Linked DNA regions of Homo sapiens: all the other regions are linked to region 6. Evidence: promoter capture Hi-C in 16 types of primary human blood cells and fetal thymus (Javierre and others, 2016). All regions are on one chromosome and are shown on one strand. The core of a region is centred on a gene start or on the middle of the fragment in contact, and the rest is flanking DNA. Distances in the headings are between cores, read along the strand shown.

Region 1 (2,893 bases), core at 37-2,536, 870 kb before region 6:
ACCTACAGTAGATAAAAGTTTGAGAAACTTTCATGTTTGGTTTTCAAAGACACATTAGAAAAATCATGAATATATCTAATTTCTGCCTCTTCAGGTGTGATGGTCCAGGTCAACTTGACCCAAACAGATCAGTTGTCAATGATGTATTTTATGTGCAAATCTTCTGGTTTGGATTCTCTGGAAAATTTTATGAGGAACAATACTTAGCTGTTACTTATTTCATCAACTTATAGGAATCAAAGCAACGCATTTATCAAATTGTTGCTATTACAGGCGTTGGGCTCACTGCATGAGTCTCCAGTTATTATGTGGAAATAAGAATTATTAAGGATTACTTAATCCTTAATAAAGAGGCACCCCCTTTTTCTCCAATTATCTGTTGATAGGTGGCAATAGTGCTTCGAAGACTGAGGGAGCTACAGCTACAGGAAGTGGCTTTGCGGCAGGAAAACAAGCGTCCCAGTCCACGGAAGCTCTCTTCTGAACCCCTTTTGCCTCTGGATGAGGAGGCTGTGGATATGGACTATGGTGACATGGCTGTAGATGTAGTGGATGGAGACCAAGAGGAAGCTTCTGGAGACATGGAGATCTCCTTTCATCTTGATTCAGGCCACAAGACTAGTAGCAGAGTGAACTCAACAACCAAACCTGAGGATGGAGGATTAAAGAAAAACAAGTCAGCAAAACAGGGTGACAGAGAGAACTTTAGGAAAGCCAAGCAAAAGTTGGGTTTCTCATCTTCTGATCCAGATCGCATGTTTGTTGAGCTGTCTAATAGCAGTTGGTCAGAAATGTCTCCCTGGGTGATTGGCACCAATTATACCCTTTATCCTATGACTCCTGCTATCGAGCAGCGACTCATTCTCCAATATTTGACCCCTCTAGGAGAATATCAGGAGGTAAGCTTATTGGGAAGAGTACTGTTCACACATAGGAATTATTGTGTTCATTTCTGTGGTATTTTATGGTAGTATTTTATACAAAGATATATTCTAACTCTACCACAAACAAGGGTTTGCATGAAACTGTTCAAGTCTTATGCAGGTCATTCCTGATATGGTCTATTTGATTAAAGTGCATTTACACGTTTATCTTCACAGGGAGGGAGGAAGAGGTGCATCATTTCTTTAGGCTTCTATCCTCAAAGAGTGGAATAGGAAATACATGACAATAAAGCCAAAATTTAAGACTTGTATTTGGTGTTCATTTCAGCTACTTCCCATATTCATGCAACTTGGATCACGGGAGCTGATGATGTTCTATATTGACCTGAAGCAAACTAATGATGTCCTGCTTACATTTGAGGCACTAAAGGTAAAGTTCTTAAAAATATTGGGTCACCGGGGATTTTTTAAAAACTTTGTTTTTTTTTAAATTTAAGATGGAGTCTCACTCTGTCGCCCAGGCTGGAGTGCAGTGGTGCGATCTTGGCTCACTGCAACCTCCGCCTCCTGGGTTCAAGTGATTCTCCTGCCTCAGCCTCCCGAGTAGCTGGGATTACTGTCACATGCTACCGTGCATGGCTGATTTTTATATTTTTAGTAGAGATGGGGTTTCACCATGTTAGCCAGGCTGGACTCAAACTCCTGACCTCAAGTGATCTGCCCGCCTTGGCCTCCCACAGTGCTGGGATTACAGGCGTGAGCCACTGCGCCTGGTGAAGCTTTACTTATTTATTTTTAGAGATAGGTCTCACTCTGTCACCCAGGCTGGAGTGCAATGGGGTGATCATAGCTCACTGTGGCTTTGAACTCCTAGGCCCAAGCAATCCTACCTCAGCCTCCTGAGTAGCTGAGACAAGTGCATGCCACCATGCTTAGCTAATTTAAAAAAAATTTTTATAGAGATAGTCTTGCTATGTTGCCCAGGCTGGTCTTAAACTGGACTGAAGCAATCCTTCTGCTTTGGCCTCCCAAAGTACTAGGATTATAGGTATGAGCCACCATACCCTGTGTCACTGAGCATTTTATTGACAGAGATGTGCCTGTGTGTTTTAGCATGTAATTTCTCTGCATTTTATTGCTCAAGTTATTTCTATAGCCAGATGCATCAGAATAGTAACAATCAAAACATTCTTGTTTAGATAGAAGAGAGGAGGCTTACTATCTCTACAGAAACTTAGGTGTTAATCTAAAAGGCTGAACGTTGAGATAAAAAGTGAATCTAGACATGGGGTGGCCTCAGTTGTTGCTGAATAGGAGAGGAAAAACTATGAAATAGTGCTTGCTTATGCCCTACTTTTTAGATATTACCTGTATCAGCTAACAACAATTTTTTCTTTTTTTCTTTTTTGAGATGGAGTCTCGCTCTGTTGCCCAGGCTGGAGTGCAGTGGTGTGATTTCTGCTCACTGGAACCTCCGCTTCCTGGGTCAAGCAATTCTCCTGCCTCAGCCTCCTGAGTAGCTGGGATTACAGGTGCCTGCCACCATGCCTGGCTAATTTTTTGTATTTTTAGTAGAGATAGGGTTTCACCATGTTGGCCAGGCTGGTCTCAAACTCCTGACCTCAAGTGAACCACTCGCCTCAGCCCCCCAGAATGTAGGGATTACAGGAGTGAGCCATCACGCCTGGCCACAAAAAAATTTTTTAAACTATGTACATATTGTATAATGTAAAATTACCTAGGATTAACAAAATAGAAACCAGAAAATGAGTAATGAAATAGCAGACAGAATTAGCTGGGCATGATGGCAGGTACCTGTAATCCTAGCTACTCAGGAGGCTGAGGTGGGAGAATCGCTTGAACTCGGGAGGTGGACGTTGCAGTGAGCAGAGATCGTGCCATTGTACTCCAGCCTGGGCAACAGAGTGAGACTCTGTCTCAAAAAAAAAAAAAAAAATAGAAATAGCAGACAGGCCAGGCACGTTAGCTCACGCCTGTAATCCCAGGAC
Region 2 (2,821 bases), core at 46-2,545, 840 kb before region 6:
TCTTTCTGGGTAGCAGAGCTTGGTATTAGGTCCTCCAAATTTCATGTGGTTGCCTTGAGTGGGTTTCTTAATACTGCCTGTTCTTTTATTCTCACTTCAGTTTGCTACCTTAGACACCTCACTCCCTTAATGCCTACTTTTTCACATTAGCTATCATGAAACAAGATGTAGTTTATTCTTGAGTCCATACAGAGGGTGCAGTTGTCAGGCCATTTGCGCGTACATTACAATGGTATGGGTGGCTGTCGACTGCTTTGTCCTCCGTGGGTTTATTCATCACTACCAAGTATCAGTTCTGAATCAGGCTTCTTGGATGTTACATGTTGAAGCATAAATCTGAGGCCAAAACTGGATTGTTTGTCAACATCATTATCCCAGCCCTCCCATATCCGTGCATTTAATAAGGCAGTGGGCGGCAGTCTTCTCTGGGAACCATCACCTGGGTCCATGTGATGCCTGGTGTCTGTCTTTGAGGGGGAGGTCAACTCAGAGGAAAGTTGAGATTGCCCTAGACACCTTGGGAGTTGGAAGGCTATTCTCTGGGTTCGCCTTATTCTTGCAGACATGGAGTGGTGAGAGGCAAAGGCACTGGAGGTTGGTGGCTGGCTGTGGAAGCGAGAGGCCACCATAAGGGAATAATTTAAGAGTTATACTCCTCTTATCCCACTCTCTCCAGGAAGGCTTGGGTCAGGGAAAAGACTGACTAATTCTTCTTCTTTTGTCCTGCTTAACTTCTGAGAAGTTAAGGGAGAAAGAGATTAGGAAGGGCATATGGTAGTGGTCAGGACTTTTGACTTGGATGCAGGAAGGAAAGCAAGAGGCTGCCTCAGCGTGACAGCCAAGAGTGAGAGGGGCAGGGTCAAGAGGGCTCTAAGGAGTGGCTCTGGAGCCCAGCCTGTAGAAGAGCCGGAAAGCTTTCTAGCTCAGAGAAGACTAGGTGGCAGGGTAGGTGTGCAACATGGCTAAGTTATTACTGTGGCTTCCAGATTTCTTAGGATCTAGGCATGTTTCACTCCATACTGATATTACAGCTTTTATTGATCATCTGGTGCATTTCATGTTTGAAGGACCTCTGTTAGAGAACTGCTTATCCCCTCAAGCCCTTGGCATTTTGATTTTTGATTTAGAGATGTTTGATTTAGAGATACGGGATAATACCGTATCTATTTGAGTAGGTCTCTTTTGTAACCTTAATTCTGTTGATCCATGCTCCTTCTAGAATCTTGTGGTGGAGTTTGGCTGTTTTTACTATCTCCATCAGATTTCTGCCTACTGCCTCTCATGCACAGTGTGCCAGCTTGAATTTTTTTTAAACTCACTTTCCTTTGTAGGAAAACCAGTCTCTAGTTTTACTTTGCTTTGTACGCTTCACCTGATTTTAAAACTAGAGACTTTTCATTTTCCTATGAATCATTTGCTATTCAAAGTTTTGTCCTAGTCTAGATATCTGTTCTCAGGTCTTCTCAGATGTTCCAGATATGACTTATGTGGCTCAGGGATACAGGCACCTGTGACCAACACCTTTGAATTTGCCTTTTCATTATAGCAAAATAAATTCAGAAGCCTGAATGGTCAGCCGTCATCTAATAAAATGGTCCAGCATAAAGAGCTTTATCGAGATATAATTGACATGCCATAAAATATTTGTCCTTTGTCCTTATGCTTAAATAAGCTTGGAGATTAAGAGGAAAGGATGAAAGGTACAGCTAGCTGTATCTAGATGAATGAAAACCTAAACAATGTATTGGACACCCATAAATATTTGGTTCCTGAGGCTGCTAGTCTGCCTGCCTTCAGGCATTTGATGAAAGCAGAGATAAGCTAGTCACCTATCACAGCTCATTATTATCCATTAGAAGTTTGGTATCTGGTTGTTTTTTTTTTTTTTTTTTTTTTTTTGAGATGGAGTCTCGCCCTGTCACCCAGGCTGGAGCGCAGTGTTGCGATCTTGGCTCACTGCAACCTCCACCTCCCAGGTTCAGGCAAATCTGCCTCAGCCTCCCTGAGTAGCTGGGATTGTAGGCGCCTGCCACCACAACCGGCCAATTCTGTATTTTTAGTAGAGATGGGGTTTCACCATGTTAGCCAGGCTGATCTCGAACTCCTGACCTCAGGTGATCCGCCCACCTCGGCCTCCCAAAGTGCTGGGATTATAGGCATGAGCCACCGCGCCCAACCTGGTGCCTGTGTTTTTAGAAATCAGTTCATTCATCTTTGATTTGACTTTTAGAAAAGTTACAAAACCCAAGATAAGTAATTGATCATTGCTCCTAGATTTTGACAAGCCAATACATTTTAGCTAATTATACTTAACCTTAAATTTATAATAAAAAACTCAACAAAGGAATAATGCTCTCTGTTTTCCACTCCATTTTGGAGTCTGGGACACACTGTGTGCTGTGCTTCCTGTGTGTTCTCCACTGCCTAGAAGCGGATGTTAAGAGTCTTTACTGATTACACACACCTGGTCAGAGCTGAATGTGTTGATTCCTGAAAGGCCTCATTTTCTTAAAGAATTGAAATGTAACTTGAGTTAGATTCTGCCATTGAGGAAAGAAAAACAAACATTTATGACCCTAAAGTGAACCTATAGCCTTTAAGGACAGAAAAAGTATTTTTTAAAAAGTAGGCATTTATACATTTAGCAAAATATGACATGTTACATAAAGGTCAGGATCAGATTTGAATGACGGTTTTGTTGTTGTTTTTTTTTTTTTTTTTTTTTGAGATGGAGTCTCACTCTGTCTCGCCCAGGCTTCCGCCTCCTAGGTTCAAGCAATTCTTCTGTCTCAGCCTCCCAAGTAGCTGGGACTAAAGGCAT
Region 3 (2,811 bases), core at 127-2,626, 750 kb before region 6:
GCCCTATGTTAAGAAAAAGTTCTTGGGGTATGACCCCAAAAGCATGATCTATAAAAGAAAAACATTGACAAACTGGACTTCATAAAAATTAAAAACTTTTGTTCTAAGAAAGATATTGTTTAGTAAATGAAAAGATAAGCTAAAGATTTGCAGAAAATATCTGTAAATCATATGCTCAACAAAGGACTTACATACAGAATATATAAAGAACCCTACAATTCAACAATAAGGAAAGCAGCAACTCAAATGAAAATGAACAAAAGCTTTGAACTCATTTTACCAAAGAAGCATAAAGATGGTATATAAGCATATGAAAAGATGCTCAACACCATTAGTCACTAGGGAAATAGAAATGAAAACCACAATGATATACAACTACACACCTATTAGAATGGCTAAAACAAACGAACAGATAATACTAAGTACTGGTTAGTATGCGGAGCAATCGATTATATACTGCTGCTGAGACTTCAAAATGGTATAGCTATTTTAGAAAAGAGTTTGAGAACCTCTTCGAAAGCTAATTACACACTTGTCACAAGGCCCAACAATCCTATTCCTAAGTATTCACTCAAGAAAAATGAAAGCTTATATGCATACAAAAACCTGTAAAGAAATGTTTTTAGTAGCTTTATTTATAATCCACAAAAGAGGAAATAACCCAAATGTCTTTCAAATGGTGAATGAATGAACTAAATACTACTCAGCATAGAAAAGCTACTGATACATGCAGTGACATGGATTAATTTCTCAAAGCATTATGCTAAGTGAAAGGGGCCAGTCTCAAAAGGCTGCACTTTGCTTGATTCCATTTATATGACAGTCTAGAAAAGGCACAACTATAGTGATGAAGAGCAGACCTATGGTTGCATTTGTTAAGAACAGGGGAAGGGTTTGACTACAAATAGACAGCAAGACTGAATTTTTAAGTATTCAAAAACTCTTGATTGTGGTAGTGGTTACACGACTATGCATTTGCCAAAACACATAGAACTGTAAATCAAGAAGAATACATTTTACTCTATGTAAATTTAAAAATAAATAAATATTTAAAAATTACTGTTTGCCTGGTCTACTTCTCACTGTTACAGTCACCTATTCTAAATAGACCACTGGTTCATCCCAGAATCACAGGCTCGGAAGGAGCTTAGTGGGGAACTGGTACAATTCCCAAGCCAATACAGAAAATTCCCCTAGAGGTTTCCTGGGAGCTTCTGCTTGAAGATCATCTGCCAAGAGAGAAAATCTCTATCTCCCAAAGCAGGCCTGCTTACAGTGGACAGTTTTTGCTGTTAGCAAGTTATTTATTTGATTAGCTAAAATTGGCTTCCTCATCATTAGCCCCTATTGGTCCTGGTACTATCCCCTGGAGCTACAGATATAAAGGCAGGGGCCATCTCCTACACTTAGTGGTGGCAAAAGAACTACACAGGAGGACAGCCTGAAGCCATTCAGTTGGAAGCCAAGGGGCCTGTATCTCCTGGACCAACCCCTCTGTGCAGTAGTCTATAAAATGCTGGGCTACCCTGAGCCATGAGAAGTCATCTGGTCTGGGCTGCAGCCCTAGAAATGCCTGGATTATACAGTGAAAATCCTCAGTAAAGGAATGACATCACACTCCCAGGGCCCTATCATGATTGAAACTGGGAGGCTACAGTCTCAATCATTCCTTGATCAGAAAGTTATAGTGATGTTCATTCTTTCCTGGCCTCATTATTTTCTGGCCTCTAACTTCATGGAGAAAATCCACAAATCAATTTTGGCCAGCAAGTAAGGGAAAACCCTTGAACAGGATTCAAATTAGCCAAACTACAGCCCATCCCCACTAGAATCATGGCTTGGTCATCTAGGCCACCTGCCTAAGCAGAAGGGATCCATTCCAGAGAATACCCCGAACACTGCCAGGTGTCTTACCTGTTTGAAGTTGCCATTTTTTCTCTGCTCCCAGTCCATCATGTCATGAAAGATGGGAATCATGATATTCCGTACTTCTGGCTGTGGGACCAGTGTCACACCCAGAAAAGGACCAATCATTCCCGGAATAAAGTGGATCTTATGTTCACCTGAAAAACAAAACCCAAATTAGTTTATGCCTGCTTTGCTCCTTCCATGGAAGATTCCCAAATGGGGCCACAACACATGCTACAATCCATACTGGAAGCTTCTGAGAGCAAAACAAGCTCTCCCCTATGGTTTTCTGAGGTACTCTCCCTCAACTTTTTAGAGTTTATGGATAAAGTTGGCCTAGCCCAGTGAAAGCAAATGCGCAACTGTCACAAAACTGCTTTTCCAAAGAATTTCCTGACAGTCCCACAAACTACCTGAAAATCTCTCTGAGATGAAGGAACAGAGTTTGCTACTCTAGACAGAATAGGTTTCTGAGTAACCTATGAGTGTCAGATGGTCTATTCACAGTGTTTATTTAACAAGAAAAACCCAATATTTCTGCTTAAATACAATGCACTCTCCTTGGAGTTTCTAGCTCTAGCCCAGAGACATTTAAGTGATGAGGATATCCAGTCCCTGGTCTAGCCACCAGACGTCTAATAAGTCCATGGATTTTTACACTGCCTATGTTCATGTATGCCAAAGAAGTCCTCCTCCTGAGCTAGCAGGAGTCTCCTGCACAGCCCTACCCTAAAAGGCTGGCTTAGAGATTCTCTCTTTACCCACCCTGAACTCCCTTTGTGTTCATATTGCATTTCTGATGGTGCCATTACACCTACTTGGCTCAGCTCAACCCTCAACTTCCTTAATGAAGCATTTCCATGGTAAGTGTGTGATGTGGGTTTCCCTCTCATTGGCGTGCCA
Region 4 (3,076 bases), core at 402-2,901, 800 kb before region 6:
TCCCCTCCCTGGTAATACCAAACACAAACTTCAAACAGAGTGGACTGTTTCCTCCCTTCTTTGCCCAGAGTGTATCTACTACAACATCTATTACATACATTTGAAAGTATCAGTCTTTCTCTATGATGCCATGTCACACAGACCCTTCTATTTTGTCTCCCAGGGCCTAACACTGTGCTTGATAGATGTAGGACCTGCACCTTTCTCCAGATGAGCCTGCACATGGATGGTATGGAAGTTGTGGTCTAGAAGGGACTTGCTTTCTTTCTTACTGCCTCTGATCTTGTCACTGTTCTCTTTGGGCCCAGTTCTGTTTAACCATTTTGTTTATTTTTGCACTTAATGTTTACCCCCAAAAGGGAAGGGGCTTCTCTCAGCCTTCCTCTGTGTGATATTCTGGAGTTTGGCCATTGTGACAGCTCATCTCCAAAAATGGTGACCATCAACACCTTCTGTCCCAAAACACACACACCATTCCTTACAACATGAGGTGTAATCTCATTCCTCTTTCTGGTATCTGGGTTGACATTAGTGACTTGAGGAGACTAGAAACGTGGGGACTTCCTGGGACATCCAAGGCTGGGTAAAAACGAGCCTTGAGGCTTCTTCCTGGGTCTCTTGGAATGCTTTCTCTGGGGAAAATCAGCTGCCATGCTGTGAGAAGCCTAAGTCACATGGAAAGGTCATATGTAGGAGCTCAAGTTGACAGCCCCAGTCGCACCCCAAGCTGACCACCAGCATCAATTGCCAGCCATGTATGTGAGCCATCTCGAATATCTAGCCCACCTGAGCTTTTAGATGATTCCAGCCAGTGACATCTGACACCAAGTGAGAATTGCTCAGTGAGCCCTGTAAACCCACAGAATAAGAGATGATAATAGATTGTTTTAAGAAGTTTTGGGGGTGGCTTATTATGCAGCAACAGATAACCAAGCCATTTGAAGTAAAAATGAGTTATTTCCAGACAAGAAGATAATTTCTCTCTATTCAGCACTGACATAGTGCACCACCTGCCCCCGTGGCAAGAGCCATGCAGGTTCCTCACTGAGCATTCAGTAAAAGCTTGATAAGTGAATAAATCAGTCAACGGCTGGAAGGAAAAGGTGGTAACCGCCAGCCTGTGAGGTCCCCAAGAGCAGGGCCTGCTTATTCCTCCTCTTTCTTCTTTTCAGGACACTAAGTATCTGGAACAGCCTAGAGGAAGTGTCTGACCAATGTCAGAGTGCATTTGAGTTCAAATGTCCATCCTTGGTTGCCTTCTGTGTTTATCAATCATCATGATTCAGAGATCTGTCCTCAGCAAGAATACCAGATAAAGTCTTAGATATGTCAGAACATATCTTAGAGACGCTTTAGGTTAGGGAAAAAAACAAAACCAGAAGGGATTACAGAAACTGTTTCTGCAGCTCTATTCAGGACTATTTACCTGAAGACACTATAAATGCCAACCTTGACTGTGGCACTCATGGCTCAGGGTTTCTTTTCTTTTTATTCCCAAGGCCGTCTTTCAGTGTGCCTTCTTGATAACACATATCACTGCTCCTTCTCTATGTCTGCAGCTTTCACATACTGACAAATCTTCAGCATGCACCGATCTTTTGGTTCATTTGTCCTATTTAGTACTAGAAATGTCTGCTTTCAAATGCTGGCTCCCCTTTTCTGACCTCAGAGTCCATGCTAGGGAGGCAATATGGGCAGTGGAATGGGCATGAGAGTGAGGGCTGGTGAGTGTAAAGATCTGTGCCCCAAACTTAGCTTGGCTGTGAACTGGCTAGGTGGCCTTAATTCCCTTGCCCTGGAAATGAGGGCTTGGTCTGAATACTTCAGGTGAAGTCTGACTGTGCCTGCTGCAACCTTACTCCACTTCCCTCTACAATCTGCCAAGGCTTTTCCCAGGTGGTCACTGCATCTTTTCACTGTGCCATACAGCAGTCACTCCTACTGTGGGCTTCTCTCCATCACTCCTACTGTGGGCTTCTCTCCATCACTCCTACTGTGGGCTTCATGGGTTTGTGTGCTTTAGAGAGCTTCTTTTCTTAATGACTTCCCAAGTCATACATTTGTGCTATTACACCAATCAGACGTAGATTTTCACATAGTCCCATATTTCTTGGGGGCTTTGTTCATTTCTTTTTACTCTTTTTTCTCTAAACTTCTCTTTTCGCTTCATTTTCATTCATTTGATCTTCAATCACTGATACCCTTTCTTCCAGTTGATCGAATCGGCTACTGAAGCTTGTGCATGCATCACGTCACTCTCATGCCATGGTTTTCAGCTCCATCAGGTCATTTAAGGACTTCTCTACACTGTTTATTCTAGTTAGCCATTCATCTACTCTTTTTTCAAGGTTTTTAGCTTCTTTGCAATGGGTTCAAACATCCTCCTTTAGCTCGGATAAGTTTGTCATTACCGATCATCTGAAGCCTTCTTCTCTCAACTTGTCAAAGTCATTCTCCATCCAGCTTTGTTCCATTGCTGGCGAGGAGCTGCGTTCCTTTGGAGGAGAAGTGCTCTGATTTTTAGAATTTTCAGCTTTTCTGCTTTGGTTTCTCCCCATCTTTGTGGTTTTATCTACCTTTGGTCTTTGATAATGGTGACGTACAGATGGGGTTTTTGTGTGCATGTCCTTTCTGTTTGTTAGTTTTCCTTCTAACAGTCAGGACCCTCAGCTGCAGGTCTGTTGGAGTTTGATGGAGGTCCACTCCAGACCCTGTTTGCCTGGGTATCAACAGTGGACGCTGCAGAACAGCAAATGTTGCTTTCTGATCCTTCACTCTGGAAGCTTTGTCTCAGAGGGGCACCCTGCCATATGAGGTGTCAGTCGCCCCCTACTGGGAGGTGCCTCCCAGTTAGGCTCCTGAGGGTTCAGGGACCCACTTGAGGAGGCAGTCTGTCCGTTCTCAGATCTTAAACTCCATGCTGGGAGAACCACTACTCTCTTCAAAGCTGTCAGACAGGGACGTTTAAGTCTGCAGAAGTTTCTGCTGCCTTTTGTTCAGCTATGCCCTGCCCCCAGAGGTGGAGGCTACAGAGGCAGGCAGCCCTCCTTGAGCTGCAGTGGGCTCCACCCAGTTC
Region 5 (2,715 bases), core at 147-2,646, 820 kb before region 6:
TAGTGCCAGCAGTTATCACACCTTGCCACGCTGACCCCTCGCTGGCCAGTACCCTCCTGTTCATCACCTTCAGGACGACCTCTTCTCCCCAGGTGAGGTGAGGGAAAGGGTGCCCAGGTGCTCAAGCCCATTGAGGAAGCTTTCATTCTCCAAGGACAGTTGCTGGAGCCATGGTAGAACCTGACCCAATTTCTGGCACAGAATCCTTGCGATGGGGAAGAGCAGACCAAGTCATGCCCTCTTCGCACAAAGAGAAAGCAGCTCCTGGAGTAGCTCAGGCAGGTGCAGGGGGAAAGGTCTTGGAAGAAAGCAATGGGTTCCACAGCAGCAAGGCCTCCTACAGGCAAACTGAGCTTAGGAGACACAAGTGAAGTGATCTGAGGCAAGACCAATTACTTGGAAAGCACTGGTTCTTAGTCCGTCCTTTCAGGTGGTTTCTACAGGTGTCTTCATTGAGCCACAGCTCACACTAACAACTGGGTTTCCTAAGCACCAGTGCCACAGAGAGTGGCTTAAGAAGCAGACTCCAGCAAAACCCTGGACCTCAACTGTTAGACTAATCTAGGGTAAACAAAGGCAAAAGGCAGCTTCCCACTCCCTCTTTGTATAAGCTGACTCCTGCCAGACTTGCAAAAACTGGAACAGACATCAGAGGCTTGGAATGGACAAAAGAGCAAGTAGGTGGCCAGGCCAACAGCATCTTTATAGAGATGTCAGTGCTGACGTGCACTGATTGAAGATATCCTTGTGGAAAAACCACACTCCAGACACCCTGTCTTGCTTGTACTGAGCCACAATATAAGGCCCTCCAATGTATCCCAGACTCACTCCTCCTAGAGCTGTGGCCTCCAGCTCTCTTGGGCGGGTAAGACAGATACTGTATCAAGGGGCAGGGTATCAAGCGCAGCACCCCCCGCCCCCGCCACCTCCTTTCTGCTGAGTGCCTGCTGCCCTCTAGTGGTACACACCCACACACATCAGCTGGCCCCAGCCCCTATGTCCTGCTCTGGTATTTTCAGCACTGGTGGGTTGAGAGATAAATGGGAATGAATAACCCCCCAAACTCTGCAACTGGAAAGCAGAAACTGGTAGGAGCCTCCTGGGGCAAAACCCCATTTTGGTATTCACTATAATTCTGCAAGGACAGCTAGAAATTTTTTTTCTTTAATAAAAAAATCCCAGACACACTTTGAAGTCCTAGAGTACACCAGCAACAGAAGGAAGGGAATCCCCTCATGGGGGTACTGTAGGGCCAGCATCATCAGGAAAGCTCCAGGCTTCACATCTGATACAGTATTGTCAGGAGCCCACTTAAAAAATAAATTACAAAAAGGCTGTTTTGGGAGTAAGCAGTTGAACTGTTTTTTCCCCCTCAGGTGCAACAGAGATTGAGCAGACTACAAATCGGTCCGTGCACTGGCTGCCTTGGGGGCATATTTAGGCATCAGTTCATTTATCTTCCGGATGTAGTCAGACTTTTCTGCACAGCCTTTGCATGTCTCCCCCCAGTCATCCAGAATCTTCTTCAGCTCTTTAACTCGGAGCTTCTTCAGGTCCACTGTGCTCAGGTCGATCTGCTTGTCTGGAGGAGAGAGCAGGGAGAGTCACTGACTGGGTGGAGCACCTGCAGTCCCCCAGTAGTCCCAGAGTATGTCACTCCCTGAACGGCCAAACCAGCCCTACTGGTTTCAGAGGAAGAGACATTTCCAGACACATTTACAGGCATGTCAGTGCCTACTGCCCCCACAAGAGGGAACTAGCCTCTTCACCAGGAAGGCTGGCTACATATTATGTCTACTACAGATATGCAGCGTGAACAAGGATAGGGACAGAGGCCACACTGTCCTTATAGGAGAAACATGGTTCCCATCTTCCAAGTGCCTCTGACATAGTCACCACATACTAACAACTCCAGGCTGGTGCCAAAGAGCAGCCCTGCTCAGGCCTTTGAGTTAGGAACTTACTCTCCATGACCACAGTGACCTGGAGCCAACTGGACCTGTACCAGGAAGACGCAAGTAGGTGAACACAGGTCCTTGGCCATTCAAGTTTTTCAGAAGAGGCCCTGACTGTTTCTGAAGACTGGGACTATGTACACCAGAGACCCAGTCAGCAAGAGAGATGCTGTAGTTCCTAACTCTTGGGCTTGCATGCTTGGACATAGTGTTTCTTTTCAGAATAGTAAAAATCACTGGGGCTTCAGAGCTTGCAGCCAGAACCAGCCTGTTAAACCCAAGTCGTACTATGTCCCTTCTCTGCTGAAAAACTCCTAATGCTCCTAACTTCACGCAGATTAAAAGCCCTCACCAGCCTGCAATGCTCTCTGACTTGCCATGCCACTGGACACCTTTATCCTGCCTGTATCCTCTTCCATTAGCTGGCCTCTTGGCTAATCCTCACCTCCTTCAAAGTTTGCTGAAATATCACTTCTTCAATAAGGCCTATTCTGACCTCCACCCACTTCCATGCCAGAGCCCTCCAGCATTTAGCACCATCTGTCATACAATACAACCCACTCATGACTCTAGCTCATCATTTTCCTCTCCCAGATGGGAAACAAACCCAGAAGGTGCACAGCATTCATTAAGAAAGGACTAGGCATACTCACCATACTTAAGCTCACATATCTGGCTGTCCTTCTTCTTAAGCTTCTCACAGATCTTCTCCACAGGGATGTGGTGGGCCAGAGGCTTTGATACCTCATTGATGATTTTG
Region 6 (3,026 bases), core at 235-2,734:
CCAAGGGGATTGCTCCGAGCTGGCGTTTAGGAACCAGGCCGGGAGGTGTGTGGGCGGAGCCCAGTAGCCTGCCGGAAAGGGGGCGTGTCACCAGAGGGCCCGGGTGTTCCGGCGGGGACCAGATGTCCGGGGGCGTGGTCTATCTTAGCCTGGGGGCCGGGTGGAGCTGTGCATGGGCGGGTTCCAGTGTTGAAGGCTGGTCCAACTTTGGGGTCCAGTCCCAGTGTCGTGACCCTACCGAGGTCAGTGGCCCGAGCCCACCAGGGGGTCGGCCGACTGGCGGCCAGACCCCAGGGGCCGCTCTTTTACCGATTCGAATCTTGACTCTATTGGCAACTCCTCCAGGTGTTGGGACCTCTGGACCTCAGTTGCGCCTTCTATAAAATACTCGGCAGCGTCTCGCAAAGTGTGTCTTGTCAACATCTCCCCACCAGAAAGTACTGTTAACTAGAACACTGTTAACTACTTTTTTTTTCTTTTTTTCTTTTTTTTTTTTTTTTTTTTTGAGACGGAGTTTTGCTCTTGTTGCGCAGGCTGAAGTACAATGGCGCGATCTCTGCTCACTGCAACCTCGGCCTCCGGGTTCAAGCCATTCTCCTGCCTCAGCCTCCCAAGTAGCTGGGATTACAGGCGTGAGCCAACACGACCGGCTAATTCTGTATTTTTAATAGAGACAGGGTTTCACCATGTTGGTCAGGCTGGTCTCGAACTCCTGACTTCAGGTGATCCATCGCCTCGGCCTCTCAAAGTGCTGGGATTACAGGAGTGAGCCACCACGCCCGGCCTTAAACTGCTATTAAACATGCTGTTTCCCTGCCTCCTTCCCAGACCGGGAGACACAGGGGCGTTTGCATTTGTACCAGGCTACCCGGTGACTCCCATAAACTACTTTGAAAACCGGCGGATCAGGAGTATCTGAGGGCTCCTTCCCTGAGCTGATCATGCCGTGGATGGAAGCTATTGTGAGGGTATATGTAGACTTGCCTGGGTCGGGGTGCCCAATAATAAATCCACCCCACTCTCAACTTCTGTAGACGAAGATTCCCCATCTTCGTCTAGAACCCTCACACCAGAGGACCCGTCTGAGTAGAAAGCCAAGGTTCAGGAAGGGAAAAGCAGTTTCTTCAAGGTCACAAAGTCAGCCAGAGTTCAGTGCAGGCCCAAGGACTCCCAGTCCAGTGCTCTCCCCAAGTCTCCTCTGTACATCCATCCGCGTTTTGGGGGCTTGAGTCTGTCCTGGCACGGGTAGCTGGCAGGGGTCCCGAGTTCTGGCCCGGAAGGGCCTGGCCACCCACTGTCCTCCGCCCAACTTCGGCGCAGGCCACGGGGTGAGGGTAGTCTCTAAAAACTGCGACCAGGTTCTAGGCTCCCTCTGGGGGTGGAGCCAGACCCGAGCGACAAGCGAACGGTCCAATTCTGGGCGGGCTCTAGGCCCGACAGCCAATCGGAGGCCGGGGGCGCGGAGCGTGCAGGGAGGCAAGGCGCTGTAGCTTCGGGGATCCCCCGAGGCTGCTCGGCCCGGCCCCACCTCCGCCGTGGGTCCCGGCCCTACCCACCCTAGCTCAGGCCGGCAGAGCCAGCGCTCGCGGATGCGGCTGGTGCGCAGTAGCGGGCCTGGCCAGCGGCTCGGGGCTTGCAGGGAGGGCGGATCTCGGGTCGGACCCGCAGCCCCAGACGCCGGGCTTGGGGGTTCCCCCCGCCCCGGCCTCCTGCCAGTCACTACCACCCCTAGCCTCTCCAACTGAGCTCGGCGCCGGGAGAGGATTAAGTAAGTGCTGAGGTCACTGCTCCTGTGCAAGAAGGGAGGCATCACAGGGTCGCGGAGGCGGGCATGGGGATTGGGGCAGGGAGGACTGAGAGACCTGGTGGAGAACAGCATGCGGGTTCTCGAAGGTCGCGGTGCCGACCCCTTTTACCCCGGTTTCCTTCCCTTCCCCTTTGGACCCTGAGGCAGGCCTGGAAAGTGGTCAGTAGGGCCTCTTCTCTCCTTTGGGAGGCGATGTTAACAGAGCCCCAGGGCACGAGTTAAGGGTTTGGCCCAAGGTCACGCCCGGGATCAGTTGCAAAGCCAAGAAAAGAACCCGGGACTTCCTATGTGCCCAGATGTGCCCAGCCTAGCTGGAGGGAGAAGGCAAAGAGGGATGAGCCTTTCTACCCCATAACCCTCTGCCAGCCTTGCCCCTTCCTCAGGGACCATCAGAGGTGTTTACACATCTCACACACGCCCATGCATCTGCACAGGGAGGCAACCCCACTAATGCCCATGAACCAGCACAGGGGGATGTATGCACCCACGAGCTAGGTATCCCTCCTCTCCCTAGGCCGTCCCATCTGCAGCTTGGCTGGCACCTCTTCCCACCCCACCTTAACCAGGGCCCTCTGCACTGGGCAAATCTCTCACCCTCTGCTTCCAGGGGAGGAGGGTAAAGGAAGAGAAGGCACCCACACTGGGAGCTCCATTCCTGCCTCGCCTTTCTCCTTGACCCTAGCAGCCCCTCTATTGTTGGTGGGTGGGGAGGGCAGTCCAATGTCCCCGAGAGCCTGCGGAGAAGCCCCGCCAGAGAACCAGAGCCTCTCTCTCCTTCTTGTCTTCTGGTCTTTCCACATCAGCCTCCACCCACACTCCAAGCATAGTCTGGACCATACAGTGGACTGGGTCCAGGGGCTCCCTTGGCTCCCCTTTGTGACTGGGTTGGCCATGGGGAGAAAATCTAACATGTAGTGGATGCTTACTGTGGATGGGGGTTGTGCTGAGCTAAGTCTTTCTTCGACACCTGTTTGTTCTGCCATTTCTGTAACCCCATGACCCTGTGGGGATGTTCTCAATATCCCCACCTTAGACTCAGGAAAACGGAGACACAGAGAGGTGGAGTGACTTTCTAGGGATCACTAGTTAAGCAGCTGAGCTAGGTTTCAAAGACAGGCCTGTCTGACTCTTGGGCAAGTGTTTCCCTCCAGGAAAGGAAAAAGCTGTGGTATTTTTTCCCCCAAGCAGGATGAGGGATGTGGGAGGCAGGGAATGAGGA

What was found. The method cuts DNA at HindIII sites, captures the fragments that hold promoters and counts their contacts. A CHiCAGO score of 5 or more calls a contact.
Region 1: a fragment that was not itself captured here is called in contact with the fragment with the promoter of C3orf18 in region 6 in 1 of 17 cell types (total CD8 T cells); the score reaches 5.4 in total CD8 T cells.
Region 2: a fragment that was not itself captured here is called in contact with the fragment with the promoter of C3orf18 in region 6 in 6 of 17 cell types (M1 macrophages, megakaryocytes, total B cells and 3 more); the score reaches 5.5 in M1 macrophages.
Region 3: a fragment that was not itself captured here is called in contact with the fragment with the promoter of C3orf18 in region 6 in 4 of 17 cell types (total B cells, total CD4 T cells, endothelial precursors and 1 more); the score reaches 6.8 in total B cells.
Region 4: a fragment that was not itself captured here is called in contact with the fragment with the promoter of C3orf18 in region 6 in 14 of 17 cell types (naive CD4 T cells, total B cells, naive B cells and 11 more); the score reaches 14.1 in naive CD4 T cells.
Region 5: a fragment that was not itself captured here is called in contact with the fragment with the promoter of C3orf18 in region 6 in 15 of 17 cell types (erythroblasts, total CD4 T cells, endothelial precursors and 12 more); the score reaches 20.0 in erythroblasts.

What each region holds. Positions count from the first base shown.
Region 1 is chr3:51,439,391-51,442,283 of GRCh38, reverse strand. It overlaps DCAF1 (DDB1 and CUL4 associated factor 1), which reads left to right. Exons shown (of 25, transcript NM_001387579.1): 8 at 387-899; 9 at 1,213-1,314. Among named protein-coding and RNA genes, the nearest start is that of RBM15B, 50 kb to the right of the region's middle. The HindIII fragment of the contact is 759 bases long and covers 907-1,665 here.
Region 2 is chr3:51,407,063-51,409,883 of GRCh38, reverse strand. All of the region lies in intron 23 of DCAF1 (DDB1 and CUL4 associated factor 1), which reads left to right. Among named protein-coding and RNA genes, the nearest start is that of RBM15B, 17 kb to the right of the region's middle. The HindIII fragment of the contact is 758 bases long and covers 917-1,674 here.
Region 3 is chr3:51,314,232-51,317,042 of GRCh38, reverse strand. DOCK3 (dedicator of cytokinesis 3) reads right to left here. Exons shown (of 53, transcript NM_004947.5): 32 at 1,915-2,063. Among named protein-coding and RNA genes, the nearest start is that of MANF, 70 kb to the left of the region's middle. The HindIII fragment of the contact is 1,574 bases long and covers 590-2,163 here.
Region 4 is chr3:51,368,563-51,371,638 of GRCh38, reverse strand. All of the region lies in intron 49 of DOCK3 (dedicator of cytokinesis 3), which reads right to left. Among named protein-coding and RNA genes, the nearest start is that of MANF, 15 kb to the left of the region's middle. The HindIII fragment of the contact is 1,173 bases long and covers 1,065-2,237 here.
Region 5 is chr3:51,387,772-51,390,486 of GRCh38, reverse strand. MANF (mesencephalic astrocyte derived neurotrophic factor) reads right to left here. Exons shown (of 4, transcript NM_006010.6): 3 at 2,609-2,715; 4 at 1,090-1,582. The coding sequence ends at 1,398. Among named protein-coding and RNA genes, the nearest start is that of RBM15B, 2.2 kb to the left of the region's middle. The HindIII fragment of the contact is 2,509 bases long and covers 142-2,650 here.
Region 6 is chr3:50,566,205-50,569,230 of GRCh38, reverse strand. It overlaps C3orf18 (chromosome 3 open reading frame 18), which reads left to right and starts at 1,484. Exons shown (of 6, transcript NM_016210.5): 1 at 1,484-1,768. It also overlaps a transcript of HEMK1 not described here. RefSeq lists a silencer at 1,343-1,852. The HindIII fragment of the contact is 20,682 bases long and covers 1-3,026 here.